Regions from separate parts of the Homo sapiens genome. Here region 1 is linked to region 2. Evidence: promoter capture Hi-C in 16 types of primary human blood cells and fetal thymus (Javierre and others, 2016). All regions are on one chromosome and are shown on one strand. Each heading gives the region's core, a stretch centred on a gene start or on the middle of the fragment in contact. The rest is flanking DNA. Distances are from core to core; before and after follow the strand shown. Region 1 has its middle 42 kb from the start of TGM2. Region 2 holds the start of TGM2 (transglutaminase 2).

What was found. The method cuts DNA at HindIII sites, captures the fragments that hold promoters and counts their contacts. A CHiCAGO score of 5 or more calls a contact.
Region 1: a contact is called between a fragment that was not itself captured here and the fragment with the promoter of TGM2 in region 2, in 1 of 17 cell types (monocytes). The highest score is 5.8, in monocytes.

What each region holds. Positions count from the first base shown.
Region 1 is chr20:38,204,669-38,209,756 of GRCh38, forward strand. No RefSeq gene overlaps it. Among named protein-coding and RNA genes, the nearest start is that of TGM2, 42 kb to the left of the region's middle. The HindIII fragment of the contact is 1,323 bases long and covers 2,432-3,754 here.
Region 2 is chr20:38,161,024-38,166,519 of GRCh38, forward strand. TGM2 (transglutaminase 2) reads right to left here and starts at 4,247. Exons shown (of 13, transcript NM_004613.4): 1 at 4,166-4,247; 2 at 397-576. The coding sequence starts at 4,175. RefSeq lists a silencer at 4,100-4,539. The HindIII fragment of the contact is 3,789 bases long and covers 2,062-5,496 here.

The sequences.
Region 1 (5,088 bases), core at 1,843-4,342, 42 kb after region 2:
GTTTTTAAGTGTGCAATTCAGTGACATTAATTACATTTGCAATGTACACCCATTACCACTGTCTCTTTTCAAAACTTTTTCATCACTCCAAACAGAAACTCTCTACCCATTAGGCAATAACTCCCCATTCCCACCTCCTCTCAGCCACTGGCAACCTCTTAACTACTTTAATGTCTCTATGAATTTGCCTATTCTAGTTATTTCATATAATGGACTCATACATATTGGTCATTTTGTGTCTGGCATATTTCACTTAGCATAATCTTTTCAAGGTGCATCCATGTCGTGTGTATCAGAACTCATTCCTTTTTATGTGGCAAGATAATGTTCCATTGTATGTGTGTGCGTGTGTGTATATATATATATAACAAAATGTGATTATATAAAACAAATGGAATTATATGTGTATATTTTGTTTATTCATTCATCTGTTAATGGACACTTGGGTTATTTCCATCTTTGAGCTATTGTAAATAATGCCGCAATAAACATTGGCATACAAGAATCTCTTTGAGTTTCTGTTTTCAAATCTTTTGGGTTTGTAACTAGGAATGGAACTGCTAGGTCATTCTATGTTTAACTTTTTGAGGAACTTCCAAACTGTTTTACACAGCAGCTGCACGGTTTTACATTCCCACTAACCATGTATAAGGGTTCTAATTTCTTCATGTCCTTGCCAACATTTGTTATTTGCTGCATTTAAAACATCATAGCCATCCTAGTAGCTATGAGATGGTATCTCATTGTGATTTTGATTTGCATTTCCCTATTGACTGGTGATGTATCTTTTCATGTGCTTGTTGGCCATCTGTACATCTTCTTTGGAGAAATAACTATTCAAGTTCTTTACCTAGTTGGTAATTGGGTTGTATTTTTTTGTTGTTGTAGTATAAATTCTTTACATATTCTGTATATTAAACTCATCAAATATACAATTTGCAAATATTTTCTCCCATTCTATATGTTGCCTTTTCACTTTCTTGATAATTTCCTTTGATGCACTAAAGATTTTAATTTTGATGAAGTCTAATTTATCCATTTTTATTTACGTTGATTGTATTTTTGGTGTCATATCTGAGAAGTATCTATTGGCAAATCCAAGCTCATTAAGATTTACCCCTACTTTTTTTCTATGATTTTTGTTGTTGTTGTTGTTGTTTTGAGATGGAGTCTCGCTCTGTTGCCCAGGCTGGAGTGCAGTGGCGGGATCTCGGCTCACTGCAAGCTCCGCCTCCCAGGTTCATTCCATTCTCTTGCCTCAGCCTCCCGAGTAGCTGGGACTACAGGCACCCGCCACCACGGCCATCTATTTTTTTTGTTTTGTTTTGTTTTGTATTTTTAGTAGAGATTGGGTTTCGCCGTGTTAGCCAGGATGATCTCGATCTCCTGACCTCGTGATCCACCTGCCTTGGCCTCCCAAAGTGCTGGGATTACAGGCGTGAGCCAATGCACCTGGCTTTTTCTGTGAGTTTTATAGTTTTAGCTCTTATATTTAGGTTGTTGATCTATTTTTAGTAAATTTTTTAATATGGTGTGAAGCAGGGGTCCAACTTTATTCTTTTATGTTTGGAAATCCAATTGTCTCAGCATAATTTGTTGAAGAGACTATTCTTTCTCCATTGAATGGACTTGGGACCCTTGTCAAAAATCATTGGCCATAGATGCATGGGATTATTTTGGGATTCAAAATTCTATTCCTTTGTCCATACATTTATCTTTATGGAAGTACCACACTGTTTTGATTACTATACCTTTGCAGTAAGTTTTGAAATTGAAAACTCTGGGTCCTCCAACTTTGGCCTTCTTTCCAAGATGTTTTGGCCATTTGGGGCCTATTGCAATCTGTTTTAAATTTGAGAAGTGGCTTTTTATTTCTGGACAAAAAAGCAGTTGGAATTTTGATAGGATTACATTGAACCTATATATTGCTTTGGGTGGTATTGACGTCTTAACAATCCTATCCATGAATATAGTGTGTCTTTCCATTTATTTAGGTCTTCTTTAATTTCTTTCAGTAATGTTTTGTAGGTTTCCGTGTATAAATCTTTCATCTCCTTGGTTAAATTTAGTACTGGGTATTTTATTCTTCTAGTGCTGTTGTAAATGAAATTGCTTTCTTAATTTCCTTTTTGAATTGTTTGTTGCTGGTATATAAAAACACAGCTGATTTTTGTGTGTTGATCTTCTAACTTGAAATTTCGCTGAATTTATTAGCTGTAGTAGCTTTCGTGTGGATTCTTTGGGATTTTTGAGATATAAAATAATGAGATCTGATCTTTTAAATATATAAATAGTTTTACTTCTGCTTTTCCAGTTGGATGCCTTTTTCCCCTTTTTCTTGTCTAACTGCGCTGGCTAGAACTTACAGTAAAATACTGAATAGCAGTGCTGCAAGTGGGCATTCTTGTCTTTCTCCTGACCTCAGAGAGAAAGCTTTTAGTCTTTCACCATTGAATTTGATGTTGGTTGTGGGTTTTTCATAAATGCCTTTTATCATGTTGAGTATGTTCACTTTTATTCCTATTTTTCTGAGTGTTTTTATCATGAAAAGCTATTGGGTTTTGTCAAATGCCTTTTCTGCATTGATTAAGATGGTCGTGTGGTTTAATTTCCTTTATTCCATTAATTTGGCATATTACACTGATTGATTTTCTTATGTTTAGCTATCTTTGCACTTCGAGAATAAATCCCACTTGGTCATGCTGTATAATCCTTTTAAGATGCTGTCATGTTTGGTTTGCTAGCATTTTGTTGAGGATTTTTGCATTTATATTCATGAGGTATATTCATAAGTTTAGTAATTTTCTTTGTGATGTCCACATTTGGCTTTGATATCAGGATAAGAGTGGCTTCGTAAAATGTTAGGAAGTGACTTCATTCCTTTTTAATGGCTAAATAATATTTCATTATGTGTATATTTTTAAAATCCGTTTTTAAAAAATCCATTCAACAGCTAATCAACATTTGGGTTGCTTCTACTTTTTGACTATCAGAAATAATTCTCAATAAGCATTCATGTATAAATTTTTGTGTGGATATGTTTTCATTTCTCTTGGGTATTGACCTAGTAATGGAATTGTTTGGTCATATGATAACTTGATGTTTCACAGTTTGAGGAACCGGCAAACTGCTTGCCAAAGTAGTTGCACCATTTTACATTGCCACCAGCAGTGTATGAGAGTTCTGATTTCTCCACATCTTCACCAACACTTGTTATACGTCTTTTTATTATAGCCATCTTTGTGGATGTGAAACAATATCTCCTTGTGGTTTTGATTTGCATTTCCCTGATGGCCAGTAATGTTGAATATCTTGTCATGTGCTTATTGGCCATCTGTACATCTTCTTTGGAGAAAAGCCTATTCAGGTCCTTTGTCCAGTTTAAAATTTACTATTATTAATAGTAGTATTTAGCTGTGAGAGCTTTTTACATATTATTGATACAGAATATTATCTTTTATGGGCCCACACTTGCAACTCTCTTCCAAGGTCTGCCCTGGAGCTACCAGACTCTGCTTTGTGCCACATGATTCTGCAGAAAGCCTGAAGTGCCTTGGAGGTGTAAAATGTCCTCCAGAGTTCCCCCACGCAGTCAGGCAGAGGCAGGGACTTGGTCTGAAATTGCACCTTGGCTTCCCTCCCTTCCCTGTTCTGCTTGCCTTTCTGGTTTCTCTTGTGATCACCTCTTCAATGAATCACCTGTACCTGAATCCTCACCCCTAGGTCCACTTCTGGGGAACCTGACCCCAGAAAAAGCTTGGAATGGCTGAGGAAATGAAAACAAGTTAGTGCTTCTGGAACTCAGAAGACATGGAGATTGAGATGAGGCTGAAGTGGAGGGCAGAGGCTGACAACACAGGCTTTGTAGATCACAGAAAGGTTGGATTTTCTATCTGGAGAGCTATGAGGTGCTACTGTTCAGGGTTAAGCGGGGCTGACATTATATTACATTTTGAAATACCCCTCTAGTTTCTGGGTGGAGAACAGATGAAGGGGATCCAAGTGACTGCAGGAAGACCACTGCGGACCCTGTTATAGTTGTCTGGGGCTAGAGGATGGAGGCTGGGATGAGGGTGAGGACGATGGAGGGAGAGAGAAGTAGAAGATAACAGAGAGATCAGGAGAGTGGATTTAGGGGTTAAGGGGAGGTTTGAGGACAACTTGCAAGTTTCCAGCCTGGGTACCTGGATGGATGGTCAGTGCACAGAGAGGGAAGCAGGACTGGAAGGGCAGGTCAGAGATTCCACATGCAAAACACCACCAGTTTTCCTTCCTGGTCTGACCTAATCCCTCCATTTCACAGATGGGGAAAGGAGGTCCTAAGGAAGTACCTGACTACCCAGAGTTCCCCAGCATGCCCCAGGCAGAGGGCAATGGGACCCCCAGAGTCCTGCCGCCTATCCAGAGCACTTACCCTACAGGGGACTCTCTGGCTCTGGCCTCAGAGAGCTATTTTCAGCTGGGGTTTGAGACGAGGCAAATTTGTCCTGGGCTGGAGGCCAATTCACAGCCCCTGGAGAACAGGACATCTCTGCTTTATGAGGTCAGACTGTATTCTGACCCCAGCCAGCCACCCTGTCTGGGTCTAAAGTGGGTGTGACAGCCACCCTGTCTGTGTCACAAGGGTGTGAGGGGCCTACCTCAAAGTGGCTGACAAAACACACGCTCATCCACAATCCTGGGTTTGGCATTGATCCAGAACCAGGCCCAGACCCTGTGCTTTCCCCTTCTTGGCCCCTTTCCTGGCTGTGTGACCTTGGGCAAGTCATTGCCCCTCTCCAGGCTTTAGTCTTCCCATCTGTAAAATGGGGCCATCTCAGAGTATGACTTCTGTGACCCAAAGGGTTGTAGTAAATATCAGATGGGAAATAGATGGACAAAAAGTGCTTTGCGAACTGTAAAGTGCCTAGACTTCTATTGGGGCTCAGTCCTATGTCTGCCCCACATCACTGCCCAGCAGTGAAAAGTCTTTTCAAAGCTTTGTTCCTTCACAAGATGGCTACTCCTCTGGAAAGGAAGAAGTCTTGGTGTGGAACACAAGGATCCAGAGATCTTATTTTCCTGACCCAGCAGGCTTGGCAAATCCAG
Region 2 (5,496 bases), core at 2,997-5,496:
TGAACTCCCAACCTCAGGTGATCCGCCCTCCTCAGCCTCCCAAAGTGCTGGGATTACAGGTGTGAGCCACCACGCCCAGCCTGTGGATGGGATCCTGATCAACTTTCCTGGTTGAAGGCTGACCTGCAACCCTGGTGATAATAGGCTTTCAGAAGCTCAGGGTTCCAGAGGCACAGACTTGCTCACAAAGCTGGTGGTCTGCCATGACATCTCCTTCCTTTCCGGGCCTCAGTTCCCTCATCTCTAAAATGGGGCTGATGACAGGTGGCAATCTCCCAGGGAACAAAGAAGGTAAAGTTATTTGTCCTGTTCTCTGTCAGGGTTCTGGGGCATGTCGGGGTGGAGAGGAAGTGGTGGTGGTGGTGGTGGTGGTGGAGTGGGGTTGCAGGTACTCACCGGTCACGACACTGAAGGTGAGACTGTCTACACTGGCCTCGTAGTTGCGGCCCTCAAAGTGCAGGGTCAGCCAGAAGGGCTGGCCCCGTCGCACCACCAGCTTCTCCCGGCACAGGTCGGCCGTGTGGTGGTCTCGGCCATTGGTCTCCAGCTCCAGATCACACCTCTCTAAGACCAGCTCTATGGAAACAGAAGGAGACGCATGAGCCTCGGGGGCATCCTTCAGACCTCCAGTGATGCACCTGCCCTCCCTAGACATGGGGGCCTTGTGCCCTCTTACTCCCCACAAAGCACAGCCATTGTTTCGACTGACCTGTCTCCCCAGCCCTGGTCACACGGGGGCTAGGTGGGGCCCAATCTCCCTAACTCTTTTTTTTCTTTTTAATTTAATTGAGAAAAGGTCTTGCTTTGTTGCCCAGGCTGGAGTGCAGTGGTGTGATCATAGCTCACTGTAGCCTTGAATTCCTGGGCTCAAGGGATCGTCCCACCCCAGCCTCCTGAGTAGCTGAGAGGACAGGCGTGCACCACTAATTTTTTCATTTATCAGTGAGCTGGGACTATAGGTATGTGCCCAGCTAATTTCTTCATTTTTGGTTTTGCCATGTTGCCCAGGCTGCTCTCGAACTCCTGGGCCAAGTGATGGCTCCTGCCTTGACCTACCAAAGTGCAGGTGCGAGCCACAGTGCCCAGCTTTGCCTAAATCTTTTAATCACAAGGTCGTGACCCCCTGTGGCACTTCCTAGCTGTGTGACCTCCAGCAGCCATGGGACCAGCAGTATCTACCTCCCAGGGCTGGTGTGAGCAAGAAATGAATTAATGCATGTAAAACACTTAGTACAATGTCTGTTGTGTAATAAATACTCAATAAACACGAGCTATTCTATTGCTATCAGAGGGTTCTTTTGGTTTAAGCAGGGGCAGTATTTGGTACAGGTCAATTACATGGCCTTTGCCTTTAGATCCAATGTTCAATTTACAGGAAATACCCAGGGCTGAGGAACAAGTTAAACACAGAACCAGGATGCAGTTGACAAACTTCATATACTGGGAAATTATTGACAAAGGGTCCGGTTTCTTTAATAAATAGATTGCAAGAAAGAAAATGAAAAAAACATTGAAGAGAGAACCTATAAAGAGAAACTTAAACCCGTTGTGATGTATTGATCTATTTGGATCTTGATTTCAAAAAAGTATTTTAAAACATTTATTACATGTATGAGACAACTGGAAATTTAAATACTGATGGCATAATGGTGATATCAAAGAATTTTTGTTAATTTGTTTGTGTTAAAAAAAAGAGAGTCCTTATCCTTTAAAGGCATATACTGAAACATTGACAGATGACATGATGTGATGTCTGAGATGAAGGTGCGCAGGGGCAGGAGACACCACGGTGGTCAGTGCTGGGTGATGAGGACATAGGAATTTATTAAACAATTCTGTCTATTTTTGTGTATGTTCAATATTCTCCAAAACAAAACATTTTTAACATGATAGGTGCTTTGGAGACTTCCAGAGGTAGGTTTTAGTTCTGCTGTGTTGCTGTGTGAGCCTGGATAAGTGTCTCTCCCTCTCTGTGACTCCTCCTCTGAAGTCTCAAGGGGCTGCTGTGAGTCTAGAAGATGTGTTGGGAACCCCCTTCCCCACGGCCCAGCCCAGGACAGAAGCTTGATACGTGAAAGTTCCATTTACAGTTTCAGATGGAGCAGAGGACCAGGGCACGGTCAGGGTGACAGATGGGTGGGGGTCTTGGGGGAAAACAAATCTCATAAACCTTGGCAAGCTCAAGGTCAGGATGGGGAAGCCCTTAAGGTGGGAGGAGTGGGCAAGACAGACTCTGAGTGTGGAGCCACTGGACAGCATGTGGTCCAAGTGAGGCCCAGGGGCAGGAATTTGTTCAAAGTCACGCCGCAAGTTGGTCCTTGCAGTGGGAGAGCCCAGGTCTCCTGCTCACCATCGACTATTCCAAAAATGAGATGCAAAGTGCCTTGTATGTGAATTATCTCGACTTAAATCCCAAAACAACTCCGCTTACATAGATGCTATCATGATTCCCATTTTGTAGACAAAGACACCAGGTGGCTCCAGGTCCCAGAGCAAGTGGCTGCTTTGGGATTGGAATCCAGAGCTGTAGGATTCTGTAGGATTCTGCCCTGGGAACCACCTCACTACAGCTCAGTTTTTTCTCCAGCCCCTCTTATGACCACCCCTTCGCCACCATGTCCTGTGTTGTTCTCAAACCTGGGGGCAGATAGTTCTGCGCCACTGAAGTATCAGGGATGTCGGTCCCCGTGTAATCACAACAGAAGAGACCTCAGTGGCCAGAAGGAAAAACTTCCTGCTGGCCTATTGCGGCGAGGAAATGTTTTTGGAAACTTCAGACCCAGGGAGCTTGAGCAGGAAAGAGGCCATTGTTGTTCCCATGGAAGACCCTGGAGATACGGCCAGTCCCTGGGCTGTGGGAGCTGGGGCATTTTCTCCATCTGTTGTCCGAAGAAGGGTTTCCAGAAATCACGCCCAGCTCCAAAGATGCAGGTCTAGAATTGTAGGATTTATAGGATTTCTGCACTTAGAAAGGGCCTAGGCCTTCTAGGCCAGTGAGACCTCTGTCAGAAGTGGCCACTGTGACATGGGGCTGGAGGCTCATCATAACTGGCATCTCCAGGATCTCCCAGCCCCACTGAGCCCTGCTTTTGAGCATGGGGGTGAGAAGATGCATTGAGGACAAGCGGCCACCGAGGCGACACATCACAGTGTGTTGGGAGCTGGGCCCGAGGGAGGCAGGTGGCTGAGATCACACAGCAGGGTCAGGTGGGTCCACAGTTCCTGCCACCCATTCCTGCTCCACCTGCCCCATGTCCCTGTCCCACACCCCTTCCTGGGGGTTGCAATGGGTGCAGAAGCCATCCCCAGATGAACTTGACCCAAGAGCCAGCTGGGATTCTGGGTCCAGCAGTGACATCCTCCATTGTAGAAATCCCTCCAGCTGGGACCTACGAGAGTGCTGCTTGTGTGTGGGGAGGGAGTCAGGGGCACCAGTATGAAATTAGTTAAGCCTCTGTTCCACTCCTCTCGTTCCTCACAGATGCACCAAAGGCTGGAGCAGAGGACCAGGGCACGGTCAGGGTGACAGATGGGTGGGGGTCTTGGGGGAAAACAAATCTCATAAACCTTGTCCTATAAAATAAGGACACTGTTGTCCTTATTTTATAGGTGAGACTCAACAATTGGCCAAGGTCTAGGGTTGCAGAACGTGAGGGCGGGAAGAACAAGCCTGATTTCCGAAGGCTCCTGGATAGGATGCCGAAAGCTCCTCTCTGGCCGCTGGAGCCAAGGACTCAGCCAGGCTTGGCTTGCACACCACCGGCGTGGCATGCACACCACCTGGTCCTGGCTGGCAAGAACCACCCAAACCTAAGTGTTCTGAGGCCAGGCCAGCACCCCCTGCACAGCTCCAGGCACACATCAGAGAGCCAGCCCCCACTGACTGACTGAGGACACGTGCCAGTGGTCCGCCAGGACAGTACTTTACAGTTTACAACACCCCGTCGCGTTCCATTGCCTCACCTGATCCAGGGAGGCAAGGGTTAATGGTTATGCAGTGTGGATGGGGAAACTGAGGCTCCAAGCAGCATTGAGACGCCTCCTCACCCAGCCCGGTCTGCCTGTTGCTCTCCAAATCAGGACTTAGGGATTCAGCTCCCACCGGGTCCTGACCCCCAATGCCCCGGGGCCCCTGAGTGGCGGCTGCGGTGACTCTGATACTCACCCTCGGCCATGGTCGGGCGGGGGCGGTGGCTCCTTCCACTGGCGGCGAGACCCTCCAAGTGCGACCACTGGCGGCTGGCACTGCCGAGGCGGAGAGCGGCGCTAACTTATAGCCCGCTTTGGGGCGGGCCGGGGGCGGGGCCCCGCGGGAAGGCGGCGACCTGGGAGGCCACCCATTGCCCAGTCCCGGGCCCACGCCGCCAGCGCTGGGGCTCACCCAGGGGACCGGAGCCCGAGGGAGGGACGGCGGCCGGACGAGGGCGCCCCCTGGGGGAGCGGACAGGGACACACAACTAGCCCAGGATACAGACACACCTGGACCCACAGACTCAGACCTTGGAGAACAGACACCTGGACACACACACTCAGATACAGACACACGCAGCACCCTCATAGAAACACACAACGGAACCGGGGTGCACCTGGACACACAGATGTGGACTCTTAGGTCAGATCTGGGATCAAGAACACCTCCCCACCCCCAACACACACACACACACACACACACACACACGCACACACTCACACACATACTCAGATATACATACACAGAGAGCAGACGCAGACACACCAAGACAGGGCTGTGGAGATACACACACAAACACAGATACACTCCCACAGATACACCAAACACGGCTGGCCACGCAGACACAGTGACATGGATACAAATTCAGATTCGAATGGCAGACACACACCAGGACATAGATACAGCCTGACACAGCCAGGTAGCCTTGACCGCGAGCCACACACAGCTGTGGACACAGATGAGCAGGTGTCCAGAGGCACCTGGCACACACACAGACCTCCTAGACACCAATGCCACTGTCAGATGTGGACGCAAAATCAGAGAGGGCACCCACAGACACACAAAGATGTGGCTACTCAGAGGTAGACACACATGCAGGCATGGACTCAGGTACAGACATGCAGACACACCTGCAAAAACAGACACACCCATGTCCCTTCCTGTAGCAAAACCCAGATAATCCTCCGATCTCACCCATCCTTGTATCTGTCTAATCAGCCATCCATCTAATCAGCCATCCATCTACCCATCCATCCACTCACCCATGCATCACCTACCCCCCCACCTATCCATCCACTCATCCCTTCATCCATCCCTCCCTCGGCCTTCTCTTCCCTCCCTCCCTCAATCCATCCATCCACTGAGCTTTCTTGAGGCCCCACTGTGTGCCAGAAAGGAGCAAGACTAACTTTCCAGGGACTCAGCCTAGGACTTCTCGAACCTGGCAACCAGGGGTCCTATCTCTCATCCTGGTATCTCTGGTCTCTTGGTCTCCTGTGCTTCCGGATCCACTGTGAGCCCTGAGC